2 separate regions of the Homo sapiens genome follow, and region 1 is linked to region 2. The links are contacts of gene promoters, found by promoter capture Hi-C in human tissues and cell types (Jung and others, 2019). All regions are on one chromosome and are shown on one strand. The core of a region is centred on a gene start or on the middle of the fragment in contact, and the rest is flanking DNA. Distances in the headings are between cores, read along the strand shown.

Region 1 (3,291 bases), core at 217-2,716, 35 kb before region 2:
TTTTTTGCTCCAAACATTTACTGTTTGGACTATACATCTGGATACCTCCTTATCCTCCACTCCAGGCTTTATTTTCTCATCTTGTGTTTTTTCTAGATCACAAGTTCCCTGAAGGGTTTTAAACAGATTCGGTCTCTTACTTCTGGATTTTTTCCAACCTAGTGACTGATGGATTTACAAAAGTCGTGGATAGATTAAAGTAGATTCCCATGACAGACTGACCTGTGAGGCCTCGAGGTCCTTTCTCACCCTGGTCACCTAAAGCAAACAAGGGGGAGGTGGAAAAAGCCACAGTTGTGAGCAAGGAAAACACTCTCACCCAGTAACAGGGTCCCCGGCTGCAGGGTAGTTCTCACTGTATCCGTGAACTCCTGTCAGCGGATGTTGGTGAGGACACAGCATTAATGCAGCCAAAGGAGCACATCTGATCTTTGGCAGAGTCAGTTCCCCCCCTACAAACTGACTCCCCAGCCCCTGCTGTTGCACAAATTGGTGCCATGGACACAAGAGGTCAGATGCCTTGGAATTCTGTGTCTTCACCACCCCGAGAAACACTCACCACCCCAGAATTCAATGTGATGTTAGTGCTTTGTTTCCCTTCTTTGTGCCTCAGTTTCCCTATCTGAGAGGTTGGATTAGAATGAGATCTTGGTCCAGGTCCTGTGCACCCTCAGACCCTACAGTGAGGGTCCCATCTGGGCTCCCAGGAGTGAGGCAGGCCCTGGTAATGACAGAGCAGCAGTGAGTGGCATACCTTTGGGTCCTGGTGGTCCCATTGGTCCTTTGTCACCTAAAAAGGAAATGGACACCTTGGTGTAAAATGCCCTACAAGGGACAACCAGGAAGGGGCAATGTCTGTCTCTGAAGACAGGCTCCCTCAATCCTGACTTCTTCTTCCCCTCTTGCACTTGTCAGCCTGCATAGGCTGTGGGTCGTGTCCATCAGACCCTCACTGTCCCCCCAGGCCTCCCTCCAGCTTACCTTTGACACCAGGAAGTCCTACTTCACCTCGGAGCCCTTGGAGACCTACAGGACCTGCCCGGCAGAAGAAACCATGCACACAGATGAGTATCCCTAGCTTTGGAATGATGAGACATGTATGCACACACATGCACACATACAGGCACACATATGCACACACCCTATAGTAAAAGTCAAAGGATGCTTTCCATGGACTCCTTCCCAAGTCCTTTTTAAGTCATTTTGGCCCAGGTTCCTTGCCTCTGCTGATGAACAGGCATTAGAACACATTGTCGAGTCTTGGCAGAGGCACTGGCCACAGCTCAAGATTCTCAAGACAGCAGGACAAGCTCTGTGGCCATAGGGGACAAGAGAGAGGCAGGTGCTTGCTCAGATGGAGGCAGGATGGGGACTTCCATTGCTGAAGCTGCTGGAGGGTCTCAAGCCCTAAGCCAGGTCAGAAGGGATCTGGACAGGACATATCAGGGAGCCCAACCTCTGCCACAGGAGACACACATGCAGACTTGAATTCTATATCTCTAGGAGGCTTGCTTTATAATTGCTTCTTTGGCTTTAAAAATATTTGGTTTTCCTTTTAACATTGCCACCTTTGCCCTGGAAACAGAACCTATTTACAAGAAGCAGCAAACTGACCTGGAGGGCCCTGTGGGCCAGGAGAGCCGCTGGAACCTGAGAAGGAGGACAAGACAGCAATCAGCAGAGGGGCAGATACAGGTGGGGACATCTGGCCCCGGTGCAGGGCAGGTGGGGGTTAGGGACGCTGTCTTCCAGGTGAGGGCTGTGTGAGTGTATTGCAGGCCAGGGGTGACCCCAGTGCATGTCCTCCTTAGGGAGGGGGTGCAGCTGGGTGGGATCAAACTACCCTTTGCTCTTTCCTGGTCAGAGTAGAACATTTGGGCTGGGGCAGTAGAACATTTGGGTTTTGAGAAGGGGCCCATTCTCCCTGGGTTGCCCAGACATGTTACTTTTGGTGTGTGCATCTGGGCCGCAGTCAGTCAAGGAAATGGTCTAACTTCTGATTTCCTGAATGATCCATCCACCCACTTAGGGATCACATAACGGGGCCATTGAAGAGAGATGGAAACATGGCCCCAAGCCCATTATGGGGCTAAACTTACAGCCCTAGTCTTGACTCCCCAGGGACTGCTTTTCTGGGGGATGCTCTTTGGACCCACCCACCACCCCTGCACAGGCCTGGGGCAGGGGGTTAGGGCTGTCTGGGGTCCCAGGGCCTCTTCTCTGTGATCCATCCTGAATGTGGCTTCTCCTCTGGAAAACTTTGATTCCTTCCTGCACACTGGACTTACCTTTGGGACCCACAGAACCTGGGACACCAGGTGGGCCATGAGGACCTGGTTCACCAGCAGCCCCTGAGGAGAAATGGAGGGATGAGCACTTTGGGAGAGGCCCCAGTGTGGCTGCCCCCTATCCTGGCACTGTCATTTGGAGGGGATGCTTCCCACCCTGCTAGTGGTCTTGGATCCATTTGGTGCCCCAGTGAGGCCACTTATCAGCAAAACTCCTTAGCTTCTACCCCCAGAGACTTTATAGTCTATGGAGTTTGACACCTAGTAGGCACTCAATAAATTTTATTGTCTGGTTGAGCAATATTTTAAAGAGAAAGTAAAGCTGAAAATAAAGCTTCCTGCTCACAGTCTGTTAGCATTAAGAGGACTTCTGGTATCTGTCTTGGTTTCCCCTGACAAAAGCAGTCTCATAGTTAAGGATGGAATTGCAACACCTTCCCCAGCCTCTCCAGCACTGAACCTATGTCTGGGGCCTTCCCCACCTCCCTCTTGGCCTCCTTCCAGCTAGGAAAGGCTCAAAGGTCTGTGCCCCACTCCACCTTACAATTGACTCTGCCCTGCCCTGCCCCCTGAGCCCCACCTCGGCCTGACTCCTCACCCTCACCACCCAACTCCAGGAAGGCCACTGCTCCTGTGACCACTTTCCCGGTGGATTCCAGGGATGTCAGATGGGTTCTCAGCCCTAGGCCTGGCCCTGTAGCCCAGCCTATGCCCAGCGTCTCTGCAGGGCCTAGCACAGACCCTGACTCAGGGTGGGTGCTCAGTAAATGAAGGAAGGGGGGAGAAACAGAGACAGAGTGAAGGAGGGACGGGTGTTGACAGAGAGAAGGAAGCACAGGCATAGCTAACTCTGCCGGTGAAGGAATTGCCTCTTACCTCTTTCCCCTTTCTCTCCAGATCCAGGAGGCCCTGCCTCACCACGAGGTCCCATGGGGCCTTCTCGCCCTCTCTGGCCCATGGGGCCTTCCATGCCAGGATCTCCTAAAGACAGGGATGGCCAGCC
Region 2 (3,405 bases), core at 737-3,236:
TTACTCCATTCTCTATACACTTTAAATTTTAAAACAAAACAACAACAAAATTGCCAAAGTATTAGAAAACCATCCACTGGCTATTGACCTGATAACACAGAAGGGCCCAGCAGTTTGATGCCAGGAAAGCCAATGCCCTGGAATTGAATATCTTGGAGGCTTTGTCTCTGTAACACCCCAGAGATGGGTTTGCTGCTTGCTACATTTGGTATCCTGGATTTTCATGACTGGGAGCAGGTGGGATAGGGCACCAGCTTTGTGATTATGCTGGTTTGTTTACAGTTGTGTCCTGCCACTGTTAATAATGGCAAATGAAACAAACAATGTAAACACAGACTTCTTTTTGTTTTTCATAATCTGAGAAGGTGGTTAGTTCTTAGGTCAGGTCAGTTTCACCAATCTAAGGAGTTTTTTTCCTATTTTTTTTTTTTTTTGAGACGGAGTCTTGCTGTGTTGCCCAGGTGGGAGTGCAGTGGCACAACCTTGGCCCACTGCAACCTCTGCCTCCTGGGTTCAAGCAATTCTCCTGCCTCAGCCTCACAAGTAGCTGGGGTTACAGGCATGCACCGCCACACCCAGCTAATTTTTGTATTTTTGTATTTTTAGTAGAGATGGGGTTAGTATAATATGAGTGTGCACCACTACGCACACCACTATGCTTGGCTAATTTTGTATTTTTTGTAGAGTCAGGGTTTTGCCATGTTACCCAGGCTGGTAAGTTTCTATGCAAGCTTGAAGCAGAGCTGTTCACTTTAATTGTTCCTGTGTAAACTCTGATCAGACTCATGTGGGTGTTTTGCAGGGCCTAAGAGTAAAGCAGGACACCTCTGAATCTCTGGAGTGAGTCTGTGTGGGGATAGACATCTGTCTTAGGTTAGTTCTGACAGATCTGTGCCTTAGCTCTAAGAGAGAACATATGGAGGTAAGAAGAAACTATTCTGCTTTTCAAATAAATACCTTTTAAAAATCTTGCTACGTTTTACAAGTCCACTATTAGACTACTGATTAACTACTTCTCAAAAGAAGGAATGTGCCAGAGGTTTTGCCTCCACTTCAAAAAGTAAAGTGATAATTTGTCAGTTACCAGTTAACGTCATCCACTTAGGTATCTAAACTGGTAATTCTCATCTCAAAGTGAATTTTTTTGGCAGGAGGAAACCCAAGTTGACTCGTAAGAGTATATATACGGGAAACAATTTTCTTCCTTTTTTTATTCCTCTAAGTTTGATCCTGCAAAATTTCTGAATTAATCAGATCATTTCAAAGATCCTACTTTTCTTTAGATTAGAGGTAATTTTACAGCATGGTAAACAGCAATGTTTACCATGTATGGCTTAATCAGAGAGGCCCAGTCAGCACAGGGACTGTTTCTAGAAGGCCCCCTTACCTATACTTTAACTTCACCCCTGAGTTGTTCTCTTCGTCCAGTGGAGAGAGAGACAGAGGGAAGAGGAGAGCAAGATAGCGAGAGAGGAAACTGAGATTGGGAGAGAAGGAATTATAAGCCCGTATCATATTCTAAATAAAACAACACAAGTCATTTTACAATGCTGAAAACAATGCAGAAAGGTCTTGCCTCTAAAGCCCGCTATATTTTAACCAGCCTTCAGCCTTCTCCTTTTCCCCACTTATTTCCTTTGAAAGACCTACCCTAAGCAGAATGCATACACCAAAGTCATCTTTTATAACCAATTGATCACTTTAACCAGAATGCTAGAAACTACAGAACTTCATCTTCTTTTCTCCAATAAACATTTAATTTCTAAATGGCAAACCTTAAATCAAAGTCTCAGAGAAAAGGAGAAAGGTCAGTCTTCCTGTTTACTTACCTGGTTTGAGGTTTTGAAGGAATTGGAAACAACTTTGAATAAATCCCCCTCTCTCTTTCTTCTCCTGATGTTTTCTTCTAGAAATTTGCAGTGCTCACTTTTTTTTTATCCAGACCCAGCCAAGGTGTGTTAAAGCTGAGTGATCTTTCAAAAATGTTCACTTTTCTTTCTCTCCACCTTGTTTCTTTCAACTCTTTGCTTCCAAACATGTCCTGACAAAGGTGTGTCATGGTTTACAGCGTTACTCCACCCTTCCAATTATCTGACACTTGCTGGATTTAAAAAAAAAATCTGCCTCCAGGAATCAAACTTTACTGGAGGCAGAAAGCTTCTCCTTCCAGCTTAGGTAGATTAACTATTTATAAGGCCCATGGGGAAAAGGAAACAAAGGACCAGCATAAAGGAAATGCTTTTTTATTGCCTACCTTCTACAGCTGGAGAACTGCCACAACTTTGTGGCAGTACCCTTCCTCAGTGCCATGGGTACTGGAATCCCACTGCATGATTCATGAGTCTAGGCACGTGGATGGGCTCATGGATGAGCATGGTCTAGGCACATGGATGGCCTGTGGTCATACTGCCTGAGCCCTAGAAAAACTGAAGTTGGCAGGATTTATATTCAAGATCTGTTTCCCCTATAGATGTCTTCGTCCTCTGTTCCTGTGTCCTGTGTCCTTTGTCTTGTTTCCCCTATAGATGTCTTTGTCCTCTTTCCCCTCTTGTGACTCAAGCCAGGTCAAGCCCATCTGGAGAAAATAGTTGGTGAACTAATTCATAATATGCTAATGACTGAATGTACTGAGCAATTGGTGGGGTAGGGGTTCGTTTTACAAAAGAGGCAACCAGATATAGTGATGCTGACCTAAAAGAGTGACATGTTAGTGATGGAATTTTAGGCATTTAGCCACCTAATAATGGAGAGAGGTGCTGTTGGGAAGGGATAAGGACCTTCTTGTCCTTCAAATCAGGTGACCGCATAGTCTCCATACACCTAAAGACATGTGTGGGCTCCCAGATGTCCTGCAACTCCAAGTACATCCTGGGGACCTTTAGATTTCCCTAGAGGGTCAACTTGCATCAATCAGGATAATTCTTATGAATACCTGGATAGCATCTGGCTTCCCAGGGGGCCTAAAGACTAGCTTGAGACACTTGGTGTTGGTAAAATGGGAAGTCTGAACCTGGAACTCACTCAGGCAGTCCTTTGAGGCCATAGCACATTCCTGGGACCCAGCATCACACTGGGATTCCCAGTTCTGAGGCATTATCCTAAGATACTGGAGGGGAGCAGTGGGGCCCTTACAGCATAGCACCGATGTGCAACTGCACCTTGCTATTGTGGGCACTGCATCCCATGGAAGGGTAGCAGACCACAACAACAGCTGTGGGGCTCTTGCTCCTAAGCTGCCCATATTCCACACTGGAGTCGTGCATTTCAGAACCCTTTCAATTATGCAGAATTTGACACTTGCTTTGTAGGATGTTCTTGCCTTCCCCAAATAAATACTCAATATGTCTTCCGTCAGTTTCATAGTAGAAGAACACTGAAGAACCCAGAACACACAGAGCTTTCAGC

The links. Contacts are between HindIII fragments. The study calls those that stand out against the background at their distance.
Region 1: a contact is called between a fragment that was not itself captured here and the fragment with the promoter of COL17A1 in region 2, in 1 of the 25 tissues and cell types used here (neural progenitor cells).

What each region holds. Positions count from the first base shown.
Region 1 is chr10:104,049,867-104,053,157 of GRCh38, forward strand. It overlaps COL17A1 (collagen type XVII alpha 1 chain), which reads right to left. Exons shown (of 56, transcript NM_000494.4): 23 at 3,165-3,269; 24 at 2,289-2,351; 25 at 1,615-1,650; 26 at 982-1,035; 27 at 755-790; 28 at 223-258. Among named protein-coding and RNA genes, the nearest start is that of MIR936, 3.3 kb to the left of the region's middle. RefSeq lists an enhancer at 3,216-3,291. The HindIII fragment of the contact is 6,067 bases long and covers 1-3,291 here.
Region 2 is chr10:104,083,894-104,087,298 of GRCh38, forward strand. COL17A1 (collagen type XVII alpha 1 chain) reads right to left here and starts at 1,987. Exons shown (of 56, transcript NM_000494.4): 1 at 1,830-1,987. The HindIII fragment of the contact is 3,215 bases long and covers 1,445-3,405 here.